Regions from separate parts of the Homo sapiens genome. Here region 1 is linked to region 2. The links are contacts of gene promoters, found by promoter capture Hi-C in human tissues and cell types (Jung and others, 2019). All regions are on one chromosome and are shown on one strand. The core of a region is centred on a gene start or on the middle of the fragment in contact, and the rest is flanking DNA. Distances in the headings are between cores, read along the strand shown. Region 1 holds the start of RPL3 (ribosomal protein L3). Region 2 holds the start of PICK1 (protein interacting with PRKCA 1).

Region 1 (4,549 bases), core at 1,201-3,700, 1.3 Mb after region 2:
GGGGTTTAATTATTCTGCTACCTCTCCTGGTTTCTAGTTGGACTCCTCAACCAACTGGGTCCTCAGCCACCACCCACTAGCCTGGACTCAGAATGAGGGTGTTAGCTTCCGGCTGAAACCAGATGGCTGGCCAAGTCTGATCCCAGGTATTTTTCTGTTCGAGAGGCAAACTAAACCCAAGACAGCAGCTCCCTGCCTGCTACAGAGCTGAGAAACCATGCACACGCTGCTCCCTGCTCTCCAGCTCCCAAGCTCCCAAGCTAGGGACTGCATGGCCTCCTCCCTTACCAATTCTTATAGAAACGCCTCTTGCATTCATCACTGATGTGCTCAGCAAAGACAGTCTTGAAGGTCCGGAGGCCTCGAGGGGTTTCCACGTAGCCCACAATGCCCACAACCACCATGGGTGGTGTCTCTACAATGGTCACAGCCTCCACCACCTCCTTCTTGTTCACCTCTGCAAAAAAAAAGCAGTAGTCAGACTTGGCAGGAGCCCAAGCAAGGGGTGTAATGTTTTCTAGGAAAATGCAAAGTGCCCATTTAGGCCGGAAGGGCAACTGGGCCCCACACCTGCAGTACGGACTCACAGGGCTGTCCTTACTGCCTATCTCTCATTCAAAGCACATTTATGTTATTCAAACAAAAAATATCAGGACCCTAGACAGCCAAATACCTGTCCAGCTTCAATTCTCTTCTACAGAAACCTCTGGAGGCAGACAAGATTGCTATTTATCTGGAAAATTCAGTGCCCTAACAATAGCTCTGAGCTCAGAGATTAGTCAGTATCAACTGCCTAACATTAATGTCTCCATGGCTCAGCAACCAGTGCTGTTAGACATCTCTAAGTAGAACACACACAGGTAAGTGGCCATTATTCAAGCTTTCAGGTGAAAAAAACATGAATGAGGCAGTTCTTATGCCAGCCTCAGCAGCTCCAACCCCCCACACTAGTGTTAACTTCTCTTTGCTAAGGTTCCTGGCAAATTTACTATGCTCTGAAATCAATACCCCACACCGCACCTAAAGCAAACAGTGCTGACCATCTGTAGCCTTGGAATATTAGTTTTCAAGTTAAGCATTCCCATTCTGCTGTCGCAGCAGTTCTGACAACGTGTAACTCCTGCTTAAAAAAAAAAGTCTGCCCTCTGCTAACAGCTTGACTCCATCTCTACAATTTCCCTCCCCCTCCACTCCTATTCCCCCAACTTTTAGGATGTCTGTACATACTGGATCCCGGCCTGTCGACTTCCCGCACGATGTGAGTCATGCCAGCCTTGTATCCCAGGAAGGCTGTGAGGTGGACCGGCTTGGACGGGTCATCCTTAGGGAAGCTCTTCACCTTCCCACGATGCCTGCTGCTGCGCTTCCGAGGCAGGAAGCCGAGGGACCCATGTCTGGGAGCGGAGAACTTTCTGTGAGACTAGGTGGGAAAAAAATCACCGTCAGCACCCAAACCAAAGCAGTGCCCCCTTCTCTAGTTCCCAGCTGCTTAAGTTCCAAATCTCAGCAATACTGAAGAATCCTGACCAGACACCCAGCAAGCCGAATAAAAAGGTCATTATCTCTTCCAGGCTCGCACGTGTCAAGAATGCTTTTGTATTCGACAAAATTTAAGCTGAATCTTATTTCAAATCCTCTCAACCTGTAAGAAAACGACCCATTTTTTTTATCTAACCACACAAAAATACACTAAGTAGTGGCACTAAAAACTGCTTAACAGGCAGCTTTATATGCCAATTAGCAAGGTTTTGACCGCTAAAGAAAGGGACTCCCGGGACAAACGCTGGGTAGCAGCTAGCAATGTTAAGCTATAGGCTGCCTCCGGTGCCCGGACACTAATTACACTGATACACACAGGCCAAAGAACTCCGCAGAGCCAAATCAGAACGTGACAATCAGCACACAGTTTCTGTCCGCCCGTCAATAAGTTCATCATCTGTGGTTTCTGCGAGCTCCAGAGGCCTTCGGAGTGCACCAGCGGCCCCAGATATTCAGGAGGACTCCACAACACTCCCCTCCCCCAAGCTTCTTTACCTCCCAATGAGAACGGCGCCGAGAACCTCCACCCAAGGTCCTTCTACCCAGACAAGCAGGTTATGGGCCCTAATCCCAACTAATGATAGAATTGGTGAGGTCGAAACTTAGAAATGACTCATGGCTTTAAAAACGCCGGGCCTCCAAGCCTGCTCCCACCCTTACGGCCTCTCTCTGGCCGACCTGCAGGCCCAAAGCCAGTCCTCCAAGCGCTCTTCACAAGCCTCTCGACTTTCCAGAAAATAGGCCAGACTGAAGTCCCCGCTGGGTCGCCCGTGCCCCTAAAGCAAACCCCCGGCGCCGGCCAAGACGGGATGGCGGCGATGCGTCGCGGATTCAGCCGTGCCGACGCCGGTGACAATGAAACGGCCGCCATTACAACACATACCATCACGCCATCAAATCCCGCCGGTAGAGGCCGGTCGGCCTTACGGGTCCGCTATATAAAGCCAAATCTGGCCCCGCCCCTTCCGGCGTGCGAGCGCGCCCCCGCGGCAGACGACAGGTCGGGGGCACGTACCGAGCGCCATTTCCACGCACGCTCTTCCGCTCCTAGCTTTCGTTCAGAAGTTGACGTCAGCTTCGGAGACAGAAATTACACACTCTACGGCGAGGGGTCGGGTTCAAACTTAGTGAAAAGCCGCGGAGAGGTGGGCTAAGGGTGGGTGAGCCACAAATCTACGGCGTCCGGCAGCAGCCAAATTTGATAATAACGAAGAAAAATGGCTGCGTCGCTTCTCCTCCTGTGATATGCAGCTATCTCTGGAATTAGCGAAGAAAGACTGAAACTCTCGTTTCCTGGCTCCCACGCTGGTTTTGCGGCGACACCAATTTACCTTTAATACCTTTAATCTCGGGCATCCCTCCCTCAAGCCCTATCTCTGCCATTTCTCCCATGCTAATGCAGTGGCCCGCGCTTGATTCTGAGGGTCAGGAGCGTCCCAAGCCTGCGGAACGGCCTCACGACCTCTGGTCATGCCGAGTCCAGCTGCTCAGCCTCCCGGAGCCCCACGCCTTCCAGACCTATGCATCAGCGAGGGCTTTCGCTGATCTCTGCCTAGGCTCCAGGGTGACTCGGATCCTGACCGATTCCCTGCTTCCAGGCTGGTCCCTTACAAATCTCTTTTTTGAGACGGAGTCTCGCTCTGTCGCAGTGGCGCGATCTCAGCTCACTGCAAGCTCCGCCTACCGGTTCCCAGTTCAAGCAGTTCTCCTGCCTCAGCCTCCCGAGTAGCTGGGATTACAGGAATGCGCCACCATGCCTGGCTAATTTTTTTTTTTTTTTTTTTTGTATTTTTAGTGGAGACGGTGTTTCACCATGTTGGCCAGGCTGGTCTTGAACTCCTGATCTCGTGATCCGCCCGCCTCGGCCTCCCAAAGTGCTGGGATTACAGGTGTGAGCCACCGCGCCTGGCCCCCTACAAATCTTTCTAAGAATCAAGTATCTCGTTACTTTCCATGGCCGCCTCGTTGTTTCCTCGGAATTAAGCATCAACTTCAGCGGCCACCAAAGACGCTCCCCTAACCGTCTACTTCAGCCTCATGGCTGCGCCAGAGCACACGCTCTCATATCACCTGCTTCCTCTGTCCCACCCTGTCATCTTCTTTAATTCTGGGCCTGGCCTTTGCTCCCACCGTCGTTTGAAAAGCATTCTCTCGGCCAGGCGCGGTGGCTCACGCCTGTAATCCCAACACTTTGGGAGACCGAGGCGGGCGGATCACCTGAGGTCAGGAGTTCGAAACCAGCCTGGGCAACATGGCGAAACCCCGTCTCTATTAAAAATACAAAAATTAGCGGGGCACGATGGTGTGCGTCTGTAATCCCAGCTACTTGGGAGGCTGAGGCGGGAGAATCGTTTGAACCCGGGAGACGGAGTTTGCAGTGAGCTGAGATTGCGCCAGTGCAATCCAGCTCAAAAAAAAAAAAATTATCTCAATCCTCACACCATTCCCGAAGGACATAAGTGATAGATCTTCAATCCATTATTAGAAATCCTGGGGGCCACATATGTTTCAAAATTGAGCATTTTTTGATTTTTAGAAAGGTAATATGGTGCACATACTGTATATTATGTAATACAGCACTTTTTAAAGAAAAACAATATTCCGTAAGGAAACATGAATATTCACATGGAGTGGGACAAATATAAATAGACTCACATCAGTTCAAGGCTGACTTTGCTGCTCAAAAAATGCATCAGTTTACTTTTTGCTGCCAAATAATTTAAGAAGGTTTTTAAAATTTCAGGATACAGGCCAGGCACGGTGGCTCACACCTGTAATCCCATCACTTATGGGAGGCTGAGGAGGGTGGATCACTGGAGGTCAGGAACTTGAGACCAGCCTGGCCAACACAGTGAAACCCCGTTTCTCCTAAAAATACAAAAATTAGCAGTTGTTGTGCACGCCTGTAGTCCCAGCTACCCCGGAGGCCGAGGGAGGAGAATTGCTTGAATCCGGGAGGCAGAGGTTGCAGTGAGCCGAGATCGTGCCATTGTGCTCCAGCCTGGGTGAC
Region 2 (4,829 bases), core at 329-2,828:
AGCATGGTCATGGGCTGGAAGAGCCACAATCCATGTTAAGGCACCTGGGTTTGGAGACTGCTGCCTTTTTTTTTTTTGAAACGGAGTCTCTCTCTGTCGCCCAGGCTGGAGTGCAATGGCCTGATCTCGGCTCACTACAACCTCCCTCTCCTATTTTCAAGCGATTCTCCTGCCTCAGGCTCCCAAATAGCTGGAATTACAGGTGTGCGCCACCGCACCTGGCCTTAGACTGCTGCTTTTTGAAACCAAAATTCTGGCCTGGAAACAGAGCTTGGTTTTCCCAGCCCCAGCCCTGCCGCTATGATACCAGAGGAAGAGGCTTCCCAGGGCCTCCGTTTCCTTGCCTGCACAATGTGGCTGGCAAGATTTGGTCTTCTCTCACAGGGTGGTGGTGAGCTTTCAAATCCTGTGAAAGTGATCTCACAGGAGAGCAGTGGACACGTGGGAAGGCTGTTATTGTCACGGCATTCTGCACATCTGTCCGGACTCAATTAGCCACCTAAGGAGAGAGTAGGGCGGGGCTTCCACCGGCCGTGGGATATGTGGATAATCATCCTTCTGTATCTTTCTTCCATGGCTCCTGGGGCAGCTGGGGAAGCAAGCTGGATGGGCCTGGCCCCATGCTGCCGGATGAGGTGGATGCCTGGCTGTGGCTCTGGGAGAGCCAACCTCCCCCAGGGAACCCACTTTACACAATAGCAGTGGCAGCAGAGGCTGGCGAGGAGACAAGATTCGGACTCTGGGGAGCACTGATAGCATTTCCCGAGCCTCAGGTACATGCGGACCGTGACCCTCCCTGGGACCCCAGGGGGGCTGCTCCTCAGGACTAAGGAAGGAGGAGGGGGTGTGAGAAACCTTTCACCATATACCATAGAAAGCATTTACCTCAATGGCCTTGGTTTACATATGGGGAAACTGAGGCACATAAAGGGAAGGGAGCATGTCCAGTCTGTCCTTAATAGCAAGACCCACTGAATACACCTCTCCTGGCTCTCTGTTTAGTGTTTGGACGTTCAAAGATCCCTAGACTAGGCGGCGGGAGTTTCAGGGCCACGATCCAGATCTTACACCAACTGTGTGTGGCCCCGCACAAAATCACTCCCCGCTCTTTGGCACTTAAGTTGGCGAAACTGGGATGGGCTGGGACCTCAAAGGGCCATTCTAGTAGGGGAGTCACAGGCCCAGGTGGTGAAGGGGTGAAAGGGCATGATGTCTTGGGGTTTATAGTCCACTGAGCCTCGCCGGAGGTAACCCCGGCTCAGGGATGCTTTCGTTGCCATGGCAACCGCCGGGCCGGCGCGGGCCCCTGAGTGCAGCTGAGGAAGCTGGGACAAACCCTGCCCTTCCCAAGATGGCGGCGGCGGCAGGGCAAAGGGCGGGGTTAGACGCTGTCAGCCTGTCCAGACCGTTCCTCTGTTTTCGCTTGTTCCTACTAACAGCGAGCTTCCGCCAATACTTGTTCTCGTTCTTGGTTCCGAGCGTCCCGGGAGCCGGGAAGGGAAGGATTGTCTGCAGGGATTGGAGCAAATATCCAGTGGGGGGAAAGCCGGGACTTCCGCGTCTTGCCGGAAGTGACGTGACAATCGCGGCCACCGCCAGGTGGAACGGCAGGTGGGTTCAGGTACCAGCCTGGCCGGGACCCGGCTGTGGGACCAACGCTTCCGGTGAGCGACAGAGGCAGCTCCCCAGGGCCTGGAGACCCGTGGGGCGGACTCTGGGATCTGAGCCTATCGCCCTGGCCTGGAGCCCCCCTTTGTACCTAGTAAGAATCACCTACCCAGCCCCCCACCCGGAGACTGTCCCATCCCACTCCAGAGGGAAGAGGAGGGCACTGCTGTCCCGTATGAGGTGGTGGAGGGAGGGGTGGCGTTGGCATTTAGGCACTTGGGTTCCTTAAATCCTATGCTCCTTTCTCTCCCGGATCCAGTTCCCCATTCCCCTACCGAGCTGGGCAGTTAGCCAGCCCACTCCAACTCTCGGAACCATGTTTGCAGACTTGGATTATGACATCGAAGAGGATAAACTGTGAGTATTTTATTCCCCCAAGTTCCAGCAGTATAGGAGCCCCAAGTTCCTCATTTCCCTGGACTTCCCAGTCCCACAGACCCTTGCTTCTCAGCGGTGGATCAGTTGTTGTACTGAAGCAGCAATGGACCCTGCTCTCCCAGGAGCTCACTATTTGTAGGGGGCTGTGGACAGTTAAAGGGATAATCACAGCTCAGTGCCATAAGGGCACTATTAGCATGACTTGGTGACAAGAAGAGCAAAGCAGATGGAGCAGTGCTTCTGCTGGGATGGTCAAGGAAAGCTTCATGGAGGACGTAGCAATTGAACCAGGTTTTGAAGGTTGAATAGGAATATTGTAGACACCCTTCCTTCCCAACATAGGTTGTTAGTAGGACAGATTTTCCCATTAGAATATATCCTCTTTCAGATCAAGGAGTGGGTGCAATGCCTTTCTCTATGCTCAGCACTTAGTAAGGGACTTGACGTCAGTAGGTTGTTAGCGAATGTTTTTTGAATGAATAAGTGAATCAGCGTGAGTACTTATCATAAAACACCAGTCAATGCTAATTTATAGTGGAAACCGAGAGGTAATCGAGCAGTTGAGAGGTGGGAGGTGGACAGTTTAATAGAGGAAGACTCCCTGGAGTAGGTGGCCATCATACTACATAGATGCCTGATAAGGTGACAAGGACAGAACCTGGCTCAAATCTCAGAGATCGAATAAATGAAAGGGAAGGGGGACCTATTTTTATGGAGTGCCTGCTATGGACTGGGTTGCTGTTAGTGCCCTCCATGCATGGTTAGAAGAACTCTGATAAGGGTGCTCATCCACATTTTATGGATGAGGAAATTGAGATGCACAGAGGCTGACTTACCCAAGTCCCATAGCTGGCCAGGCACGGTGGCTCACGCCTGTAATCCCAGCACTTTGGGAGGCTGAGGCAGGCGGATCAACTGAGGTCAGGAGTTCAAGACCAGCCTGGCCAACATGGTGAAACCCCGTCTCTACTAAAAATACAAAAAAATCAGCCAGGCGTGGTGGCAGGCACCTGTAGTCCCAGCTACTTGGGCGACTGAGGCAGGAGAATCACTTGAACCCGGGAGGCGGAGGTTGCAGTGAGCCGAGATTGCGCCATTGCACTCTAGCCTGGGCAACAAGAGTAAGACTCCATCTCAAAAAAAAACCAAGTTCCACAGCTGATAAATGGCAGAGCTGGGGTTTGATCCCACATCTGCTTAACTCCAAGAGCTGTGCATGTTCCAGCACAAAATGTTGTTTTGTCCAAGGGAGGGAGAGAAAAAGCTGGGCAGCCAGTGGAGCCCCTCAGGAGTTTTAGAGGGCCCACCCGCTCCAGTCATCCTTCTGCCAGGAGAGTCAGCCTAGCTTGCTTTCCTTTCTAGCGGAATCCCGACTGTGCCTGGGAAGGTGACCCTGCAGAAGGATGCTCAGAACCTGATCGGGATCAGCATTGGAGGAGGGGCCCAGTACTGTCCCTGCCTCTATATCGTCCAGGTATTGGGCGCTTTGGAGGGGGGCACAAGGTACATCCCTACTTGGGCATGACAAAGGCAGGTTCATTTCTCCACACTGCATAGCTGACTCCTTCTCATTCTTGAGGTCTGACCCTCTCAGAGGGGCTTTCTGACCACCTGCGCTGCGTTGCTCTGCCCTGTCTTCTCCCCTGTGTCGCTCTGTTTTTTTCCTTCTCGGCACTTATTACTTGTTATTTGCCCTCTGTCTAGTAGAGTAGACTCTTTGCACTGAGGGCAGTGTCCTGGTTTGCTTTTTCACTGCAGTAAGCACCAGGTACAGTGCCTGGCACATAGTGGACATGCAATAGAAATTGACTATTGAATCAACAAAACCATCAGCCTTGCGTACTAGCCAAAATGAAGTGTCATAGGAACACGATGAAATAATGGCCTGAGTTCAAATGCAAGCTTCTTTCCTACTTACTAGCAAGTTACTTAACCTCTTTGGGCCTCAGTTTCATCACCTAGAAAGCGGGGATTTAAAACATGTAGACACAATCATCTCTGGGTTCTTGTGAGAAGTCAACAAAACGACCTAACACACTAGAAGTTAAGAAACGTGCATTGGCCAGGCATAGTGGCTCACACCTGTAATCCCAGCACTTTGGGAGGCCGAGGTGGGTGGATCACGAGGTCAGGAGTTCGAGACCAGCCTGGCCAACATGGTGAAACCCCGTCTCTACTAAAATACAAAAATTAGCTGGGCGTGGTGGTGCACGCCTGTACTTCCAGCTACTTGGGAGGCTGAAGTAGGAGAATCGCTTGAACCTGGAAAGTAGAGGTTGCAGTGAGCTGAGATCACGCCACTGCATTCCGTGCATTCCAGCCTGGGTGACCGAGTGAGACCCTGTTTCAAAAAAAAGAAAGAACCATGCATTAAGCAGTAGCTGCTGCTATTTTCCAGGTAGCTGTACATTTTCCCAGATGCTCTGCCAGTGGTGAGGAACACTCTTGTGTCTCTTGCAGAGGAAGCTGCACTGGTGATATTCTGTCCACTGTAACTCAGGAGTGGTGACAGGCCTGCTGTGGGGCCTCCTTCACTGTGTGGCTCATCCAAGTCAGTGACCTTGCTGTAGCCTTGGGAATACCTGTTCTAACCCTCTCACTGGTGGCAGATGGGAAACTGGCCTCTGTGAGGATCTTGCTCAGGAGTCGCTTGTAGGCCTCGAAGACAGATTCCCAGGATCGACCTGGTCTTGCTTCTGCTCACAGTGCTGCCTCCTTCATGAGCCATTCGGCCTCCTGTGACCCAGGAGGCATTAGCAAGACCTCCCCCAGGCCTGGCCTCC

Evidence for each region. The method cuts DNA at HindIII sites, captures the fragments that hold promoters and counts their contacts. A contact is called where the count stands out against the background at its distance.
Region 1: the fragment with the promoter of RPL3 here is called in contact with the fragment with the promoter of PICK1 in region 2 in 2 of the 25 tissues and cell types used here (heart left ventricle and mesenchymal stem cells).

Annotation. Positions count from the first base shown.
Region 1 is chr22:39,317,173-39,321,721 of GRCh38, forward strand. RPL3 (ribosomal protein L3) reads right to left here and starts at 2,451. Exons shown (of 10, transcript NM_000967.4): 1 at 2,423-2,451; 2 at 1,228-1,420; 3 at 289-457. The coding sequence starts at 2,425. It overlaps SNORD43 (small nucleolar RNA, C/D box 43), which reads right to left and starts at 1,941; the gene lies at 1,880-1,941. RefSeq lists enhancers at 1,440-2,329, 2,196-2,245, 2,330-3,219, 2,636-3,055, 3,220-4,108 and 3 more. The HindIII fragment of the contact is 19,716 bases long and covers 1,453-4,549 here.
Region 2 is chr22:38,055,826-38,060,654 of GRCh38, forward strand. It overlaps PICK1 (protein interacting with PRKCA 1), which reads left to right and starts at 1,579. Exons shown (of 13, transcript NM_012407.4): 1 at 1,579-1,762; 2 at 1,928-2,025; 3 at 3,409-3,520. The coding sequence starts at 1,985. RefSeq lists enhancers at 1,031-1,656, 1,353-1,412, 1,657-2,280. The HindIII fragment of the contact is 14,484 bases long and covers 1-3,128 here.